Linked DNA regions of Homo sapiens: regions 2, 3, 4 and 5 are each linked to region 1. Evidence: promoter capture Hi-C in 16 types of primary human blood cells and fetal thymus (Javierre and others, 2016). All regions are on one chromosome and are shown on one strand. Each heading gives the region's core, a stretch centred on a gene start or on the middle of the fragment in contact. The rest is flanking DNA. Distances are from core to core; before and after follow the strand shown.

Region 1 (3,175 bases), core at 1-2,500:
AGCTTCCCAAGTAGCTGGCACTACAGGTGTGTGCCACCATGCCCAGCTAATTTTTGTGTTTTTTTTTTTTAGTAGAGATGGGGTTTCACTATATGTTGGCCAGGCTAGTCTCGAACTCCTGACCTTAGGTGATCCACATGCTTTGGCCTCCCAAAGGCCTGGGATTACAGGCGTGAACCACTGCGCCTAGCCTGTTAGCAGCTCTTAAAATCCAGAGGCATAAGCCTGTATTTTTGAGGGTTTATGCATGGAATCCAGCTAGAAACTGAGTCTATTACAGATCCCATTTATTATCCTTTCTATTCCAAGAAGCCTTTTTTTCTCCTTCCCCACATCTGTTTATGGAAGAAAATGAAGTTTGGGGTGTGGTTTGAGGAATCAGCTAGATTCTTATGATCTGTCACATGCTTGGATGTTGGGGAAGCATTTGGAGAAGCTCATGTGACTTGTCCTAGATTGGGGATTTTAATTGAGACAGATGATGTTTATCGGGCATCCCACCACCTGAGAGTTTTAGCAACAGAGTCACATGTGAGTCCATCAGAACTTACGGCATTGATTCAAGTGCTGTCATAAATAACCAGGACTGCTGTTTTTGGTTACTTTTAAAGACAGTTTCATCTGGACTTTCTGGGCATATCCTCCTTCAGCAAAACCACATTAGGCTGGGAAAACTATTCTGCCTGGAAGTAATGACAACTTGCAACCAACAAGCTTATAAAAATACAAAGAATTCTGGAGCCTATGGCTTCCATTACATTATTCTTTTATAGCCTTTTATGTTCATTACCGCATCCCAGAGGTGAGAGTCAGACACAAATATGAAAATAGGTTTCAATGTTGGAGAGGTAAATCCTAACAGGAAAGGGGTAGGAAAAGATATAATCCCCCAATATTAAAATAAAGATATTGAAGAAGAAGGATGGGAGAGACTAGGGCTGTGTCCTTCCTTTTACTCACCAAAAGAGAAAGTAAGCTCCTATTTGAGTCAATAGATATTGAGGTCTTGTTATTTGCCACCAAAGACAGTCTTGTGAGACTAAATAGCTAGTAATTCCCTACCCTGGCACACATGCTGCATACACACAGAAACACTGCAAATCCACTGCCTCCTTCCCTCCTCCCTACCCTTCCTTCTCTCAGCATTTCTATCCCCGCCTCCTCCTCTTACCCAAATTTTCCAGCCGATCACTGGAGCTGACTTCCGCAATCCCGATGGAATAAATCTAGCACCCCTGATGGTGTGCCCACACTTTGCTGCCGAAACGAAGCCAGACAACAGATTTCCATCAGCAGGTAACGTTTGCAACTTCCTAGATCTTTTAGCTTTTCATTCCTGTCAATTCTCTGAGTATTAGGGATGTAGTGACTTGAGGATCACAATAAACTTTTAGCCTCTGCAGATGAAAACAGAGATGCACTTCTTAGGTCATTCCCTGGCTAAATAAAATCTGCCTGGAAATCTGTAGAATTCCTTGTATGATTTATATATATACATACATGATTGTTAGTAAAAGCAAAGTATATAGGGAATCATTTCCCCATCCTTCAAGAGTGGCCTTTCTGCAGTGTTTTCTACTTTGGCCAACAAGGATCAAAACGGTTAACTCCTTAGTGAGGAGGAGGAGAGTGGTATGGGGAGGTAGTAGCTCAGTGCTTCCTGTTCACTGAGACATCTCAAAGCCCTTAACACTCTAGTTTTTAAATGTCCTACTGGACATTTTGCCAGTTTGCAAAATTACATGTAAATGGACTATAAGCAATTGTGTAAGCCATATGTCATGCTGCAGGCTGCAAATTGTTCTTAAAATGGAGGATTTGTAATTAAGAAAGCCAATGCAAGAAATGAGTGAAGCTAACTAGAGTAAACTTATGAAAAGCTGTGAATTTCATCATCATAGAACATTGCTTTTCAGTCTGAACATTCTTCTAACAAACCTTGGATCTGAGGCTTCTTGTCCTTTGCGGCAGCCACAGTGGGTTTTTGTTGTTAGGGGAAAAATAAAAAACCTTGCCCGCAGCATCTGGTTAAGATTAGGGCAGTTTCCTGCCTAAGGAGGGAAGGGAGAGAAAAAGGAAGAAGAAATGCATAAGGAGAATGAGGAGATATACAATGTCTCAGAAAACAGGAAACATTGTCCTATTTTCCCTTGTCCTCTTCTGACAAGATCTGGGAAAGTACCAGAATTTAGGCACGAAAGAGAAGAACGCCTCGAAGAAATGATCAGGAGGCAAAACTTAGACGGAAATCTCTCCTTTGTGTATTCTGAACCCCACTACCACCTTGCTATTTGTCTGTCTCCAAGCCTGCTAGGGACCCTGGAGGAAACGCACTGAGCCCATTCTGATTGTCCAGTTTCTATCCCCCATTTCTGGTTGTGTACGTGTGTGTGTGTGTGTGTGTGTGTGTGTGTGTGTGTGTGTGTGTGAGAGAGAGAGAGACAGAGAGAGAAACAGAGAGAGTGTGTGTTGCCTAAATCTCCCGAGAGAGAGAGAGAGAGAGAAAGAGAGAAATGGCTAAATCCCCCTAGATCAAAGTCCTTGGAACCAGATGTACCAGCATCCTATCTAAACACAGGCCCCTCCTGACTATCATTGTTTTATCACCCTTTTTCCGTCTACCTTTCTCTTCCTCATAAAGCCTAGTTTTCCTCTGTTTCCCTGCCAAATGGAAGAGTTTTCCCTAACTACATTCTTCTGCAGGATGTGGGGGCTCAAGGTTCTGCTGCTACCTGTGGTGAGCTTTGCTCTGTACCCTGAGGAGATACTGGACACCCACTGGGAGCTATGGAAGAAGACCCACAGGAAGCAATATAACAACAAGGTGCCTGGGGTCCTGGAGGGGGCATGGCAGGAAGGCTGAGACCTGAGCTCTCTCATCTTAGCTTCCAGACTCCCTTCTTCAATCCAAATGCTTTATTCCAAGCAAATCAGTCCCTCTTCCCTAACTCATGTTAACATACGGTTTTCATTCCTATGCTTCAAATCATCCTCTGTCAAACTGTATCCTTCCTTTGCTTTATAAGTGTGTTACATTTCTCTTTTGGGAAGAGTTCTAAGATTAATGCTGTTAATCTATAAGCAATTTTTCTGTCTCTCCAGAGCTTTGTGTTGTATTTGTTTACATATTATCTCTTCTTGCAGGCTCTTAATTCCATGGTTAGTTCCCCAACTA
Region 2 (3,569 bases), core at 270-2,769, 220 kb after region 1:
CTTGGCTCACTGTAACCTCTGCCTCCCGGGTTCATGCCATTCTCCTGCCTCAGCCTCCCAAGTAGCTGGGATTACCGGCACCCACCACAATGCCCGACTAATTTTCGTATTTTTAGTTGAGACGGGTTTCGCCATGTTGGCCAGGCTGGTCTCGAACTCATGACCTCAAGTGATCTGCCCACCTGGGCCTTCCAAAGTGCTGGAATTACAGGCATGAGCCACCAAGCCCGACCAAGCCCAGAATTTATTTTAAAGTAGTTACAGGGTGATAGTAACCTAATTGTCAGGCACTGCAGAGAACGAAATACAGATCCTCTCTGGAGAAAGTCACCTTCAAGGCAAACCTAAAAAAAATCCCTGGAGTTCAGATGATAAACTATAAGGAAAAAAAATCCCTATTGTTAAGTTCCTTTGAATATGTGTTCACTAATAAAAATCCCACAAACACAAAGCAACAGGAAGTAGGCCACCATAAATGAGAATGAGCAGAAATCATAAATAGCAGAATTATGCCCACAGAGACTTTGGATATTAGAATTATATTGCTGCATATAAAGAAGTATGTTTGCCAGGAGCGGTGGCTCACACCTGTAATCCCAGCACTGTGGGAGACCGGAGGTGCGTGGATCACCTGAGGTCAGGAGTTGGAGACCAGCCTGGCCAATATGGTGAAACCCCGTGTCCACCAAAAATACAAAAATTAGCCGGGCGTGGTAGCACGTGCCTGTAGTCCTGGCTACCTGGGAGGCTGAGGCAGGAGAATCACTTGAACCCGGGAGGCGGAGGTTGCACTGAACCAAGATCATACCACTGCACTCCAGTCTGGGTGACAGAGCAAGACTCCATCTCAAAACAAAACAAAAAAGAAGTATGTTTAATATATATAAAAGCCTGATTCAAGCACCGGACAGAAAAAATAATGTATCACTAGGGAATAAATCACTAAAAATGACAAGACTTCCATAACCATTGCTTGGTTTAAAAAAAAAAAAAAAAAAAAAAAAACAGGCCAGGTGCGGTGGCTCACACCTGTAATCCCGGCACTTTGGGAGGGCAAGGCAGGCAGATCAGGAGGTCAGGAGTTCGAGAGTAGCCTGGCCAACATGGTGAAACCCCGTCTCTACTAAAAATACAAAAATCAGCTGGGCGTGATGGCACATGCCTGTAATCCCAGCTACTCGGGAGGCTGAGGCAGGAGAGCTGCTTGAACTCGGGAAGCAGAGGTTGCAGTGAGCCGAGATCACGCCATTACATTACAGCCTGGGTGACAGAGCAAGAATCTGACAAAAAAAAAAAAAGATTTTTAAAGGAACAATTTCTAGAAATGTAGATACAGTAATTCAACAAATAACTAAAGAAATAACTACATATATACTATGTCTATGTGTGTATGTGTATGTATATATAATATATACTGTGAAGGAAAATAAAGGGTGCCATGAAAACATATCACAGAGTGTTAGGGACTGAATTTTGCCTCCCTTCTCGCTACCCAAAATTCCTGTGTTGAAGTCCTAACCCCCAGTACCTCAGCCTGGGATTGCATTTGGAGAAAGGGTCTTTAAAGAAGTAACTAAGGTTGGCCGGGCACGGTGGCTCACGCCTGTAATCCCAGCACTTTGGGAGGCTGAGACTGGTGGATCACCTGAGGTCAGGAGTTTGAGACCAGCCTGGCCAACATGGTGAAAACCTGTATCTACTAAAAATACAAAAATTAGCCAGGCATGGGGGCATGTGCCTGTAATCCCAGGTACTTGGGAGGCTGAGGCAGGAGAATTGCTTGAACCTGGGAGGCAGAGGTTGCAGTGAGCTGAGATTGCACCATTGCACTCCAGCCTGAGTAACAAGAGTGAAACTCCATCTCAAAAAAAAAAAAAAAAAAAAAAGGGCACCGGACAAGATACAGCCATTTATAAGAGGCCCCAGAAGAAACAACCTTCGATACCTTGACCTTGGACTTCTAGCCTCCAGAAGTGTGAGGAAATAAATTTCTGTTGTTTAAGCCACTGAGCCTTTGGTACTTTGTTATGGCAGCCCCCAAAAACTAATACTTAAACAATTCATCTCTGGTTCTTCTTTCTCTTTTCCTGCCCACCTCTTAAACATTGGTATTCCTCAGAGTTCTACATGGTCCTCCTTTCTCCTGTTACATAGTCTTCCTGGATAAGAAAGGGCTCTACAATTAGACTTGAATTCAAATGCTAGCCATCAATTAAAAGCTGGCTATAAATTCCCAAATCTACATTTAATTTTCTTTTTGTATAAAAAATGGGGATAAGAATATGATATGTTTTTCTTAAGAGTTGTTGGGAGGACTAATAATAATAATAGGGTGGGTGAGGTGGCTCATGCCTATAATCCCAGCACTTTGGGAGGTTGGTGTGGGAAGAGCTCTTGAACCCAGGAGTTTAAGACCAGCCTGTGCAACATAGCAAGATTCTGTCTCTCCAAAAAAAAAAAAAAAAAAAAATTTAATTACCTATGTGTGGTAGTGTGTGCTTTTAGTCCCAGCTACTTGGGAGGCCAAGGCAGGAGGATCACTTCAGCCAAGGAGTTCAAGGCTGCAATAAGCTATGATCAAGCCACTGCCACTGCCACTTGCCTGGGCAACAGAGTGAGACTGCATCTCAGAAATAATATCTTTTCTTGGCCGGGTGCAGTGGCTCACATCTGTAATCCCAGCACTTTGGGAGGCTGAGGCGGGCAGATCACAAAGTCAGGAGTTTGAGACCAGCCTGGCCAACATAGTGAAACCCCGTCTCTATTAAAAATACAAAAAATTAGCCGAGAGTGGTGGCAGGCACCTGTAATCCCAGCTACTCAGGAGGCTGAGGCAGGATAATGGCTTGAACTCAGGAGGCAGAGGTTGCAGTGAGACAAGATTATGCCATTGCACTCCAGCCTGGGCGACAGAGTGAGACTCCATCTCAAAAATAATAATAATAATAATATCTTTTCTTCAGTACTAATTATGTGAAGGGACTGAACTAATTGTTTACTTTCATTATTCATTTAATCCATAATAACCCAGCAAGGTAGTTGTTTTACTCATTTTATAGCTGTGGGAACAGACCAAGAACGTTAATTACTCAGGCAGGGTCACTCAGCTAGTAAGGGGCAGAAGCAGATTCAAACCCACATCTATCTGGCATCAAAGCCTATGCTCTTCAACTGTGAATATAGCTAAATTTCAAAGGTAAAGTAGAAAAGAATTCATCTTTGATTTCCAATTCATTGGAAGAAGAAAGCATCACCAAAGACAGGAGCATTCTCTGTAAGAATGATAAAGTGGTGAAGTTCTAAAGGAGCAGTCCCAAACTCTTCTCATCAAGACTGCCTAAATGCCCTACCCCCTAGCCCCTTAGAGGGTTTCTCTTTCTTTTTCTTTCTTTTTTTGAGACAGAGTTTTGCCCTTATTGCCTAGGCTGGAGTGCAATGGTGTGATCTCGGCTCACGGCAACCTCTTCCTCCAGGGTTCAAGCTATTCTGCCTCAGTCTCCCAAGTAGCTGGGATTACAGGCATGCGCCACCAGGCCCAGCTAATTTTGTATTTTTAGTAGAGACAGGGT
Region 3 (3,569 bases), core at 274-2,773, 190 kb before region 1:
GAGGAAGATCTGTCCTACCCCTGTATCTCCTACTCCCTAGCAAATGCACATGCCTTGCAAGATTTCACATTCATTCCCTTGTGCCAGTTGCAAGCCTTTTTTCCTACCCCACCCTACTACTGGAGCTCCCCCTTGCCTTTCCATGGGTTCTTCCTTCAGTGCTCTTTGGAGGAAAGCACACACGTGATCACCCCTTCTGCCTCCAGGTGAAGCTCCCCCCGCAGAAGGAAGTGATCACATCGGATGAGCTCATGGCCCATCTTGGTGAGTGACTGGGCGTTGAAGAGGAATTACCCAAGGGGCTCCAGAGCTATCCACTCAGCCAGAAATCCAGACTATTCAGGGATCTCCATTTGGGGGTTCTGATACAGCAGGGAGGGTAAGGGTCTATGGGGCTTCTCTGCAAGGCTGGAGAATGAAAAGCAAAGGCGTCGGGAGTCCTGGGTTGTAACACCAATTCTGCCCTTAGCTTTTGTATCTGACCCTGGGTGGGCCGTTCACCTTTATGAGGCTGTCGCCTCCTCTGAGAAATGAAGAGTCTGGATTAGACTCTAAGTATTTTCCAGCTCTGAAAATCTGTGTTCTGTGACATTACCCGCATTCTCCAGGAGAAGAGGAAACTTAGCTTTTGGGATGATTGGTGGGGTAAGCTGATAAGGGGCCCTGTCTTGTAGGAAACTGCCTCCTGTCCATCAAGCCCCAGGAGAAGTCAGAGGGACTTCAGCTTAATTTTCAGCAGGTGAGGCAAAAGGTCTGCAGGCATAGGGGTTTGCAGGTTTGTAAGGGGACATCTTGTAATACTAAGATAAGCTTTTGTTGCTTCTTCAGAGGTTTCCTTGAACCATGATTTCATTCTGCAGGAGTCAGAGGAGAGTTTATCTTTGTCCTAGAAAATATGTTCATTGGCCGGGTGCTCACACCTGTAATCCCAGCACTTTGAGATGCCAAAGCGGGAGGATCACTTGAGGCCAGGAGTTCGAGGCCAGCCTGGGCAACATAATAATACCCCTGTCTCTAAAAAAAACCATTTTTTTTTTCAAGAATTAGCCAGGTATGGCGGTGCGTGCCTGTAGTCCCAGCTACTCAGGAGGCTGAGGTGGGAGGGTCACTTGAAACCAAGAGTTTGAGGCTGCAGTGAGCTAGGATCACACCACTGCACTCCAGCCTGGATGAAAGAATTAGACTTAGACTCTCAAAGAAAAACAATGTTCATTTATATAAGATAGAGAAGGGTTGAGGCAAGGGAGAAATGGAGTGGCTTGTAAGAGAATCAGGGAAGAAGAGCAGCAAGGTTAATTTTTAATTTCTGCAGGTGGGAGTGGAGTGGTGGGAGAGAAGGCTAGAATCTCCATCATTTTTTTTTCTACCCCCAGAATGTGGATGATGCAATGACAGTGCTGCCTAAACTGGCCACAGGTCTGGATGTCAATGTGCGATTCACAGGCGTCTCTGATTTTGAGTATACACCCGAGTGCAGTGTCTTTGACCTGCTAGGCATACCTCTGTACCATGGCTGGCTTGTTGATCCACAGGTGAGGGTGGGAGGGCCCACTGGGACCTTATCCAGCTCAAGCTGACATGAGAGAGGCAAATTTTTGTCGGGTAGAGGTTAGGGAGTTAGGGGTTAGATTGGCTTGGGAGGGAAATAGTGTTTAGAGACTGGACCCAGTACAGAATTCCTTGAATTTTAATCTATTTTGGGGGTAACATGCAAATACAAGCAAACTACATGCAAATAGGTCAGTTCTTTAGACATCAAAAATTCAGGAAGCAGATGGGTTTGGTGGCACATGCCTGTATTCCCAGCTACTTGGGAGGAGTTCGAGGCCAGTCTGGGCAACATAGCAACCCTATGATGAATGGTTCCTGAAATTTTTTTCTTTTTTGAGAGACCAAAAAAAAAAAGTGTTTAGGAACCATTCATCACAGGGTTGTAGTCCTTGTGAGCTTTGTTCATTTCCTTCCTTAAAAAAGAAAAAAAAATCCCAATTTTTTTGGTATCCCACATCCCACTACCCAAGCAGAGTCCTGAGGCTGTGCGTGCAGTTGGGAAACTGAGTTACAACCAGCTGGTGGAGAGGATCATCACCTGCAAACACTCCAGTGACACCAACCTCGTGACAGAAGGTGACATTCCTCCCCTTCTCATGGATAGTATGTGGAGGGAATGACAGCTACTTAGGCTTATTTTTTATTGGGTGTCATCTCCTACCACATCCCACTAGATATAAGCTTCACAAGAAGGAGCTTGGGGAATTTCTGTTTAGTTCATTGAGGTATCCCCAGTGCCTGGCACAAGGTAGCTGCTCTATTATAAGTATTTGTTAAGTGAATGAATACAGCCAGGTTTCAAGAAAGGGACGTCAGAAGGTGGGACTGACCCCCCGGGGCTTTTGACAGGGGCTCTCTGGATGGTCCTTCCTGTTGTGGACCTTGAATTTAAGCCAAGTTTCCCCCGACTCGTCCCTTTCTGGCAGGCCTGATTGCAGAGCAGTTCCTGGAGACCACCGCGGCCCAGCTGACCTACCACGGACTGTGTGAGCTGACAGCAGCTGCTAAGGAGGGTGAACTTAGCGTCTTTTTCCGAAACAACCACTTTAGCACCATGACTAAGCATAAGGTAATGCGAGTTTGGGGGTGGCGTGCTGCGGTGCTGTCATTTCCTGGTGCCTTTTTCTCGTGGGTCCAGCTGGGATCAGCTAGATTAAGCCGTGGTAGCAAGTGACCCCTCAAATCCCTGTGGTTTACCACAACAAAGGTTCATTTCCCGCTCCTGGTGCGTGTCCACTGTGGACTGGCTACGGTTCTGTCCCACACCATCTTCACTCTGGGACCCAGCTGACAAAAGATCCTTTATCTGGAATATATGTGGGAACAGAGAGAGAGAGGGGCACTGTGCACTCATGCTTAGAGCTTCTGTTTGGAAATGACACATGTCATTTCTGCTCACATCTTCTGGCCAGAGCAAGCCATAAGGGATAAGCCTGCCGTCGATGGGACAGGAAAGTATGATCCTCCCCTAGGAGGGGGCAGTGGAATTTTTAAACAATGCTGGTCTTCAAAAGTTAGAAACTGCCAAAGCTCTCTAGGATTTGAGCAGCAGAGGGAGGGGTCTCTGGTTCTCAAAGGATTTATCCTAAGAGCCATCAGGCAAGCCCAGAGAACAATGGGAAATGGGGGGAGCAGGGTCTTATGTGGCATCTCAGCCCCAACGACTCCATGCCACGCTTAGCCAGAATGACCACCGTGCTCACACCCAACTGGACATACACTCAGACATCCCTTTCTTCCCCCCAAGGCCACACATATTTGTAAAAGGTCCGCATGCTCAGGGTCCGGGTGCGGTGGCTCATGCCTGTAATCCCAGCACTTTGGGAGGCCGAGGCGGGCAGATCATGAGGTCAGGAGATCGAGGCCATCCTGGCTAACACGGTGAAACCCCGTCTCTACTAAAAAAATACCAAACATTAGCCAGGCATGGTGGCGGGTGCCTGTAGTCCCAGCTACTTGGGAGGCTGAGGCAGGAGAATGGTGTGAACCTGGGAGGCAGAGCTTGCGGTGAGCAGAGA
Region 4 (3,569 bases), core at 308-2,807, 160 kb after region 1:
TTTCTTATAAGCAGGTCTGCTAGCAGTGAACTCTTTCAGATCTAGGAATGTATTTATTTTTTCTCCTTTTTAGAAATTTTTCTTTGCCTTCATTTTTGTTTTGTTTTTTTTAGGGTTTTTTTTTTTTTTTTTTTTTTTTTTTTGAGACAGAGTCTCACTCTGTCACCCAGTCTGGAGTGCGGTGGCACGATCTCAGCTCAATGCAACCTCCACTTCCTGGGTTCAAGTGATTCTCCTGCCTCAGCCTCCTGAGTAGCTGGGACTACAAGTGCATGCCACCACACCTGCTTTGCTTTTATTTCTGAAAGATAGTTTGCCAGTTATAAGATTCTTGGCTAATAGTTTCTACCCTCACTTTGAATAAGTCTACTCATTCTTCTGGCCTGCATTTTTTCTAATGGGAAGTCAGTTATTAAGCTTACAAAGTTCCACTGTGATGTGATAAGTCATTTTTCTCTTCTGCTTTCATGATTTTCCACTTATTTTTGGTTTTCAACATTTTTACTATGATGTTGGATATGGGTCTCTTTGTGTTCATCCAACTTGGAGTTTGTTGAACTTCTCCAATGTGTGGTTGAGTGTTTTTCATCACGTTTGGCAAGATTTTAGCCATTACTTTCTTGAGTATTTTTTCTGCCTCTTTCTCTCCTTTCCTTCTGGTGCTTCCATTTTATGTATGTTCATCAAGTTGATGATACTTTATATTTCTCTGAGTCTGTTCATTTTTCTTCATTCTCTTTTCTCCTTGTTCTTCATATTACATAATTTCTTTGATCTCTAAGTTTGCTAATTCTTTATTTTGCCAGCTCAGATCTCTTGTTGGATCCCTTGAGTGATTTTTTCATTTTGTTTGTTGTACTTTTTTTTTTTTTTTTTTTTTTGAGTTTCGCTCTGTCGCTGAGGCTGGAGTGTAATGGTGTGATCTTGGCTCATTGCAACCTCCGCCTCCTGGGTTCAAGTGATTCTCCTGCCTCAGCCTCCTGAGTAGCTGGAACTACAGGCACACACCACCATACCCGGCTAATTTTGTATTTTTAGTAGAGACAGGGTTTCACCATATTGGCCAGGCTGGTCTCAAACTCCTGGCTTCAAGTAATCCGCCTGCCTCAGCCTCCCAAAGTGCTGGGATTACAGACGTGAGCCACCATGCCCAGTCTGTTGTACTTTTAAACTCTAGGATTTCTAAATGGTTTTTTTGTTTTTGTTTTTTTGAGATGGAGTCTTGCTTTGTTGCCCAGGCTGGAGTGCAGTGGCACTATCTCAGCTCATTGCAGCCTCCACCTCCCAGGTTCAAGCGATTCTCTGCCTCAGCCTCCTGAGCAGCTGGGATTACAGGTGCCCACCATACCTGGCTAATTTTTGTATTTTTAGTAGAGATGGCGTTTCGCCATGTTGGCCAGGCTTGTCTTGAACTCCTGGCCTCAAATGATCCACCCACCTCAGCCTCTCAAAATGCTGGGATTACAGGCGTGAGCCACCGCACCTGGTCTAAATGGATCTTTTTTATAATTTCTGTCTTTATTTATATTCTCTATATGATAAGTCATGGTTTCCCTTAGGTCTTTGAACATATTTATAAAAGCTGCTTTATAGTCTTTGTAAAGTCCAACATTTTAGCGTTCTCAAAGGCAGTTTCCATTGCCTGCTTTTTTTCTTCTGAATGGGTCAATGGGTCACAATTTATTCTTTGTATACTTCATACTTTTTTGTCAAAAACTGGACATTTTAGATAATTGTGCAACTCTGGATACTACACTGCAGCTGTCCCCAACTTTTCTGGCACCAGGACAGGTTTCGTGGAAGACAGTTTTTCCACTGGGGTGGGAGACGGGGGGATGGTTTCGGTATGATTCAAGTGCATTGCATTTATTAGAGTCTCACAAGGAACATGCAACCTAGATCCCTCCCATGTGCAGTTCACAATAGGGTTCACACTCCTGTGGGAACCTAATGCCACTGCTGATCTGATGGGAGGCAGAGCTCAACTTTACTCACCCATGGCTCACCTCCTGCTGTGCAGCCGGGTTCCTAACAGGCTGCAGACCAGTACCAGTCCATGGTCCAGGGGTTGGGGACACCTGCTATACTGGTTTCTCCTTCCCACTAGAGGTTGATTGTGTTGTTTGCTTGGTAATTTGTTTCCTTAGTGACTTGCCTGCAGCAGCTCTCTGAAGTCTGTTTCTCTTGTAGTGTGCAGCCTCTGATGTCACTGCTCATATTTTCTTGTTTTTATCTTTTGGCCTAACTCCCTGTGTGTTGCCAGTGGGTCAGTAGAAGCCACTTATTAGTCAAAGGTTGTGCTTAAGACCTTTTAGCCAATTAAATTTTTTTATCCTTTACTGTTGGATATGTGTGTGTGATTTTGACATAGCCATCACAAATCAGGGAGTTTACATTTTGCCCCACATTCAGTGAGGAACTAGCAGCTTGGAAGTTCCCTCTCTGATTTCTTCTCGGAGAGAGTACATCCTTGGACATACACCAGGGATGTATGTGATTTTTTTAATTTTATTTTTATTTTTTATTTTTCATTTCTTGAGATGAAGTCTCACTCTGTCACTCAGGCTGGAGTGCAGTGGTACAATCTCAGCTGACTGAAACCTCCGCCTCCTGGGTTTTCCTGCCTAAGCCTCCAAGTAGCTGGGACTACAGGCGTGTACCACCACACCCGGCTATTATTATTATTTTTAAGCTTAGCTTTCTAGGAGTTGCCTCTGAGTTAGGGTAGCTTATTGTTCAGCCAGTGTTGGTTCAGTGGTTGTGCTTTAGCCCTTGGTGCCAGTGAAGCATCCACCCTTTTTTGATAGATCTATGTGTGGTCTGGGGAATACTCTCAAGTCAAGCCCCACGTCCTGCTCTGATTGCTCCTGAGTGGGTGCAGCCTGGTGCAAGCACACAGTCTTCCCAACCCCCAGTGTTGGTCATGATTCCAGAAGGACTTTTCTTGGCTTTCTGTTTCTCTGGTTCTGCCTGTTAAACTTCTGGAGGCTTTGCCATTTGGGTTTGTCATACCAGTGCCATAGAGCTAGCAGCACCTTGTAATTGCTCTCCACCAAGATCTCTATGGTTTTCAACACCCTTAGGCATAGAATTCTCCACACTGTGTTCCAAATAAAGTCAGTCCTCTCAGGCAGAGCTTTGGAGCTCTTCATTCTTCAGGCCTTCCTTCCCTCCTGGGCAGAACTTCTGCACAAGGGCCCACTTCTCCTACAGTGATACCCACCTGCTGTATGAGTAGGTGCTGGGGGAAAGAGGTGTTAGCCCCTGGTCTTCTTGACTTGCCTTTTCTGTTGCAGAATCTCTAATCTACGAACAAGCTGGAATGGGAGCAATTGAAGTCTAAATATTGTCAGCCTACCAGGCCTGGGATAGAGCTTCTGCTCTACAAATAGGGTAGGGAACCTCAGTCCTCTTAGCTTCACCAGCAAATAGAACTTCCACAATATAGAGTAGAAATCATCTGGGAGAGACTGGTGTCCTAAATAGAATTTGAAAAATACATAAATAATTACAGTGTCACAGAGGTCACATAAGAACAGAAATAAAGTCTATAAGCTCTAGCAATATGG
Region 5 (3,569 bases), core at 573-3,072, 140 kb after region 1:
ATTTGGAAAGGTTAAAAAGCCATGTTTTAATGTAGACATTATTTTATATCATTGTAATAATCCTGGATACTCAATTATATATCTGGCTATTTTTCATTCAACTTTATCACAAGTATTTTCTAATGTTATTTTAAAAACTCCTTATGAGCATATTTTTTAATGATGCTTTAAGTTGTTTTGTTTTCTTTCCTCTTTTTTTTTTTTTTTTTTTTTTGAGACGGAGTTTTGCTCTCGTTGTCCAGGTTGGAGTGCAGTGGTGCGATCTCGGCTCACTGCAACCTCCGCCTCCCAGGTTCAAGCGATTCTCCTTGTCTCAGCCTCCCGAATAGCTGGGATTACAGGCATGCGGCACCACACCCGGCTAATTTTGTATTTTTAGTAGAGACAGTGTTTCACCATGTTGGCCAGGCTGGTCTCAAACTCTGACCTTAGGTGATCCGCCCGCCTTGGCCTCCCAAAGTGCTGGGATTACAGGCGTGAGCCACCGCGCCCGGCCCTTCTTTCCTCTTTTTTTGCCAAGCAGGCAACTTTTAAGATCTTTAACCTTCAGAGTTGTTTTAAGGTGTGTCTTCAAGGAAGTTTGAATAAGGAAGGGCACTTTGAATACTTGACTAAGTGGAAATTCAGCATAAAGTGTTGACTGTCTGAATTTATTGAATTCCCATTGTGCAATCTTTAAAGTTTAAATATGTGTAATATTTGACCCAGAATTTTCTTCTAGATATTCAACAGAAATACACACACAAATGAATACGTCTTTACTTTTTTTTTTTTTTCTTGAGATGGAGTCTTACTCTGCCGCCCAGGCTGGAGTGCAGTGGCACGAACTCACCTCCCTGCAGCCTCTGCCTCCTGGATTCATAGGATTCTCCTGCCTCACCCTCCTGAGTAGCTGGGATTACAGGCACGGGCCACCATGCCCGGCTAATTTTTTTGTATTTTTAGTGGAGACTGGGTTTCACCATGTTGGCCAGGCTGGTCTCAAACTCCTGACCTCAGGTGATCCACCCACCATGGCCTCCCAAAGTGCTGGGATTACAGGCTTGAGCCACCACACCCAGCCAACATTTTTTAATAATAACAAAATACTGTAAGCAACCTAAATGCACATCAGTAAGGGGCTTGGATAGATAAAATTATAATGCATGTAAAATGCAATACTATGCAGTCATTACAAGGGATGAAGAAGTATATTTACTGATGTGGAATGATACCCAGAATAATGGGTTAATGAAAAAAGTTACCACTCAGTGTAATGCCATTTCTAGAAATAATATTAATAAGTGTAAACATAGAATATGTATATAAAAATCTAGAAAAGTACCCATTAAACTGTTGGTAGTGATCCTCTAGAGGGGATAAGATTCTAGAACACTTTCACTTTCTAAAGTCTACATTTCTTTTTATTTATTTATTTATTTTTTGAGACAGAGTCTTGCTCTGTAGCCCAGGCTGGAGTGCAGTGGCACAATCTCGGCTCACTGCAAGCTCCGCCTCCTGGGTTCATGCCATTCTCCTGCCTCAGCCTCCCAAGTAGCTGGGACTACAGGCACCCGCCACCACGCCCGGCTAATTTTTTGTATTTTTAGTAGAGACGGGGTTTCACCGTGTTAGCCAGGATGGTCTCGATCTCCTGACCTCATGATCCACTCGCCTCAGCCTCCCAAAGTGCTGGGATTACAGGCGTGAGCCACCACACCCAGCCTAAAGTATACATTTCTATAATGGGATTTTTCTTTCTTTTTTACAATTTTTTTTGAGATGGAGTTTCAATCTTGTCGCCCAGGCTGGAGTGCAGTGGTGAGATCTCAGCTCACTGCAACCTCCACCTCTGGGGTTCAAGCAATTCTTCTGCCTCAGCTTCCTGAGTGGCTGGGATTACAGGCGTCTACCACCACACCTGGCCAATTTTTATATTTTTTAGTAGAAACGGGGTTTCACCATGTTGGCCAGGCTGGTCTTGAACTGCTGACCTCAGGCTATCCACCCACGTCAGCCTCCCAAAATGCTGGGATTACAGTCCTGAGCGACCACGCCGGGCCTGCAGTTTTTTTTTTTGAGACGGAGTTTTGCTCTTGTTGCCCAGGATGGAGTGCAGTGGTGTGATCTCAGCTAACTGCAACCTCCACCTCCCAGGTTCAAGTGATTATCCTGCCTCAGCCTCCTGAGTAGCTGGGATTACAGGCACGTGCCACCACACCCAGCTAATTTTTGTATTTTTAGTAGAGACAGGGTTTCATCATGTTGGCCAGGCTGGTCTCGAACTCCTAACCTCAGGTGATCCACCCGCCTTGACCTCCCAAAGTGCAGGGATTACAGGTGTGAGCCACCGCGCCCGGCCTACAGATGTATATTAAAGTCCACTATCTGAATATCTTATTCTGCAAATTCTCTGAGATTCTCCATTAGCCATGAGACAATGTGCAATTCCATCTGTGTTGGGTAGGTCCTAAAATTTTCTTTAGATAGCCTTTGGTAATGAGATTTAATGATCAAATGGTGAACTTTAGTATGTACGTGCTAGGTCTTCCTGCTCAGACATACCAAAGCATTGGCCATTTAATATAGAATCTTTATTATGAATGGCTGGAGAATTCACTAAGTTAGATAGATACACTAAGAGGAAAATGACCTTTAAATATAAATAATTGTATTTTCCCTTACCTCCAGGCTATTCTGCACCTAAATTTGTTTCAATCTGTTCTAAATATTACTATAGATGACAATATTATAATCTTTATTGGTCATATGTACCCACAGTACAGGGGAACATTTACTATCATGTTCTCTCTTTTCTCAGTTATTTTCTTTTTCTAAATCCAGTCTCTTTCTTGTAGTTATACAGGTGTTTGTTTTATAATTATTTTCTTAAAACTCTACATATATGTTTTTATACTTTTGTCTATTATTGCATATTCTTAATAAAAAAGTTAAAAACTCGTTTGGAAAGTTTTGTATGTTTTGAGATGCTACAATAGGAAAGTGTGACATTCAAAAATGTAGTTTCTTTATCCTGATCTTCATCATTTCTTTATACTGCTTCTCATTTATAGTTTTGTTGACAATCTGATGTCACTGTCACTGAAACAGAAGTTACATGGTCAGGAGGAAATGAGACAACAAAAGAAAACTTTCTTCCAGTTGCTTTAATATTGGCTAAAATGTTTGCACACCTGTTAAGATTTATTACGAGAATAAATAATGCCTACATAATTACGTGTTCTGAAGGAAGTTATAGTTTAACTTTAATTAGGTAGCTAAACTATAAAAAAAAACAAGTGTTAACCTAAAAAAAAAGCCTACCCCTTCCTTAAAGAGGAGTCACAAATATGAGTTGGGGCCAGGCACAGTGGCTCACACCTGTAATTTTAGTACTTCAGGAGGCTGAGGTGGGCATACCACTTGAGCTGAGGAGTTCGAGACCAGCCTGGGCAACATGGCAAAACCCCATCTCTACTAAAAATACAAATATTAGCTGGGTGTGGTGGCACGCGCCTGTAGTCCCAACTACTTGGGAGGCTGAGGTGAGAGGATTGCTTGAACCAGGGAGGTGGAGGTTGCAGTGAGAT

Evidence for each region. The method cuts DNA at HindIII sites, captures the fragments that hold promoters and counts their contacts. A CHiCAGO score of 5 or more calls a contact.
Region 2: a fragment that was not itself captured here is called in contact with the fragment with the promoter of CTSK in region 1 in 3 of 17 cell types (erythroblasts, megakaryocytes and endothelial precursors); the score reaches 7.4 in erythroblasts.
Region 3: a contact is called between a fragment that was not itself captured here and the fragment with the promoter of CTSK in region 1, in 1 of 17 cell types (M1 macrophages). The highest score is 5.4, in M1 macrophages.
Region 4: a contact is called between a fragment that was not itself captured here and the fragment with the promoter of CTSK in region 1, in 2 of 17 cell types (endothelial precursors and megakaryocytes). The highest score is 6.7, in endothelial precursors.
Region 5: a contact is called between a fragment that was not itself captured here and the fragment with the promoter of CTSK in region 1, in 3 of 17 cell types (endothelial precursors, megakaryocytes and erythroblasts). The highest score is 6.4, in endothelial precursors.

What each region holds. Positions count from the first base shown.
Region 1 is chr1:150,806,335-150,809,509 of GRCh38, reverse strand. It overlaps CTSK (cathepsin K), which reads left to right and starts at 1,250. Exons shown (of 8, transcript NM_000396.4): 1 at 1,250-1,296; 2 at 2,704-2,824. The coding sequence starts at 2,705. The HindIII fragment of the contact is 11,451 bases long and covers 717-3,175 here.
Region 2 is chr1:150,588,694-150,592,262 of GRCh38, reverse strand. All of the region lies in intron 2 of LOC107985203 (a long non-coding RNA gene), which reads right to left. Among named protein-coding and RNA genes, the nearest start is that of MCL1, 11 kb to the right of the region's middle. The HindIII fragment of the contact is 6,180 bases long and covers 1-3,569 here.
Region 3 is chr1:150,998,420-151,001,988 of GRCh38, reverse strand. It overlaps MINDY1 (MINDY lysine 48 deubiquitinase 1), which reads left to right. Exons shown (of 10, transcript NM_001376665.1): 3 at 207-264; 4 at 675-739; 5 at 1,374-1,532; 6 at 2,025-2,127; 7 at 2,478-2,620. Among named protein-coding and RNA genes, the nearest start is that of MINDY1, 6.7 kb to the left of the region's middle. The HindIII fragment of the contact is 1,422 bases long and covers 813-2,234 here.
Region 4 is chr1:150,648,955-150,652,523 of GRCh38, reverse strand. All of the region lies in intron 4 of GOLPH3L (golgi phosphoprotein 3 like), which reads left to right. Among named protein-coding and RNA genes, the nearest start is that of ENSA, 21 kb to the right of the region's middle. The HindIII fragment of the contact is 2,275 bases long and covers 420-2,694 here.
Region 5 is chr1:150,668,452-150,672,020 of GRCh38, reverse strand. All of the region lies in intron 2 of GOLPH3L (golgi phosphoprotein 3 like), which reads left to right. Among named protein-coding and RNA genes, the nearest start is that of GOLPH3L, 27 kb to the left of the region's middle. The HindIII fragment of the contact is 5,826 bases long and covers 1-3,569 here.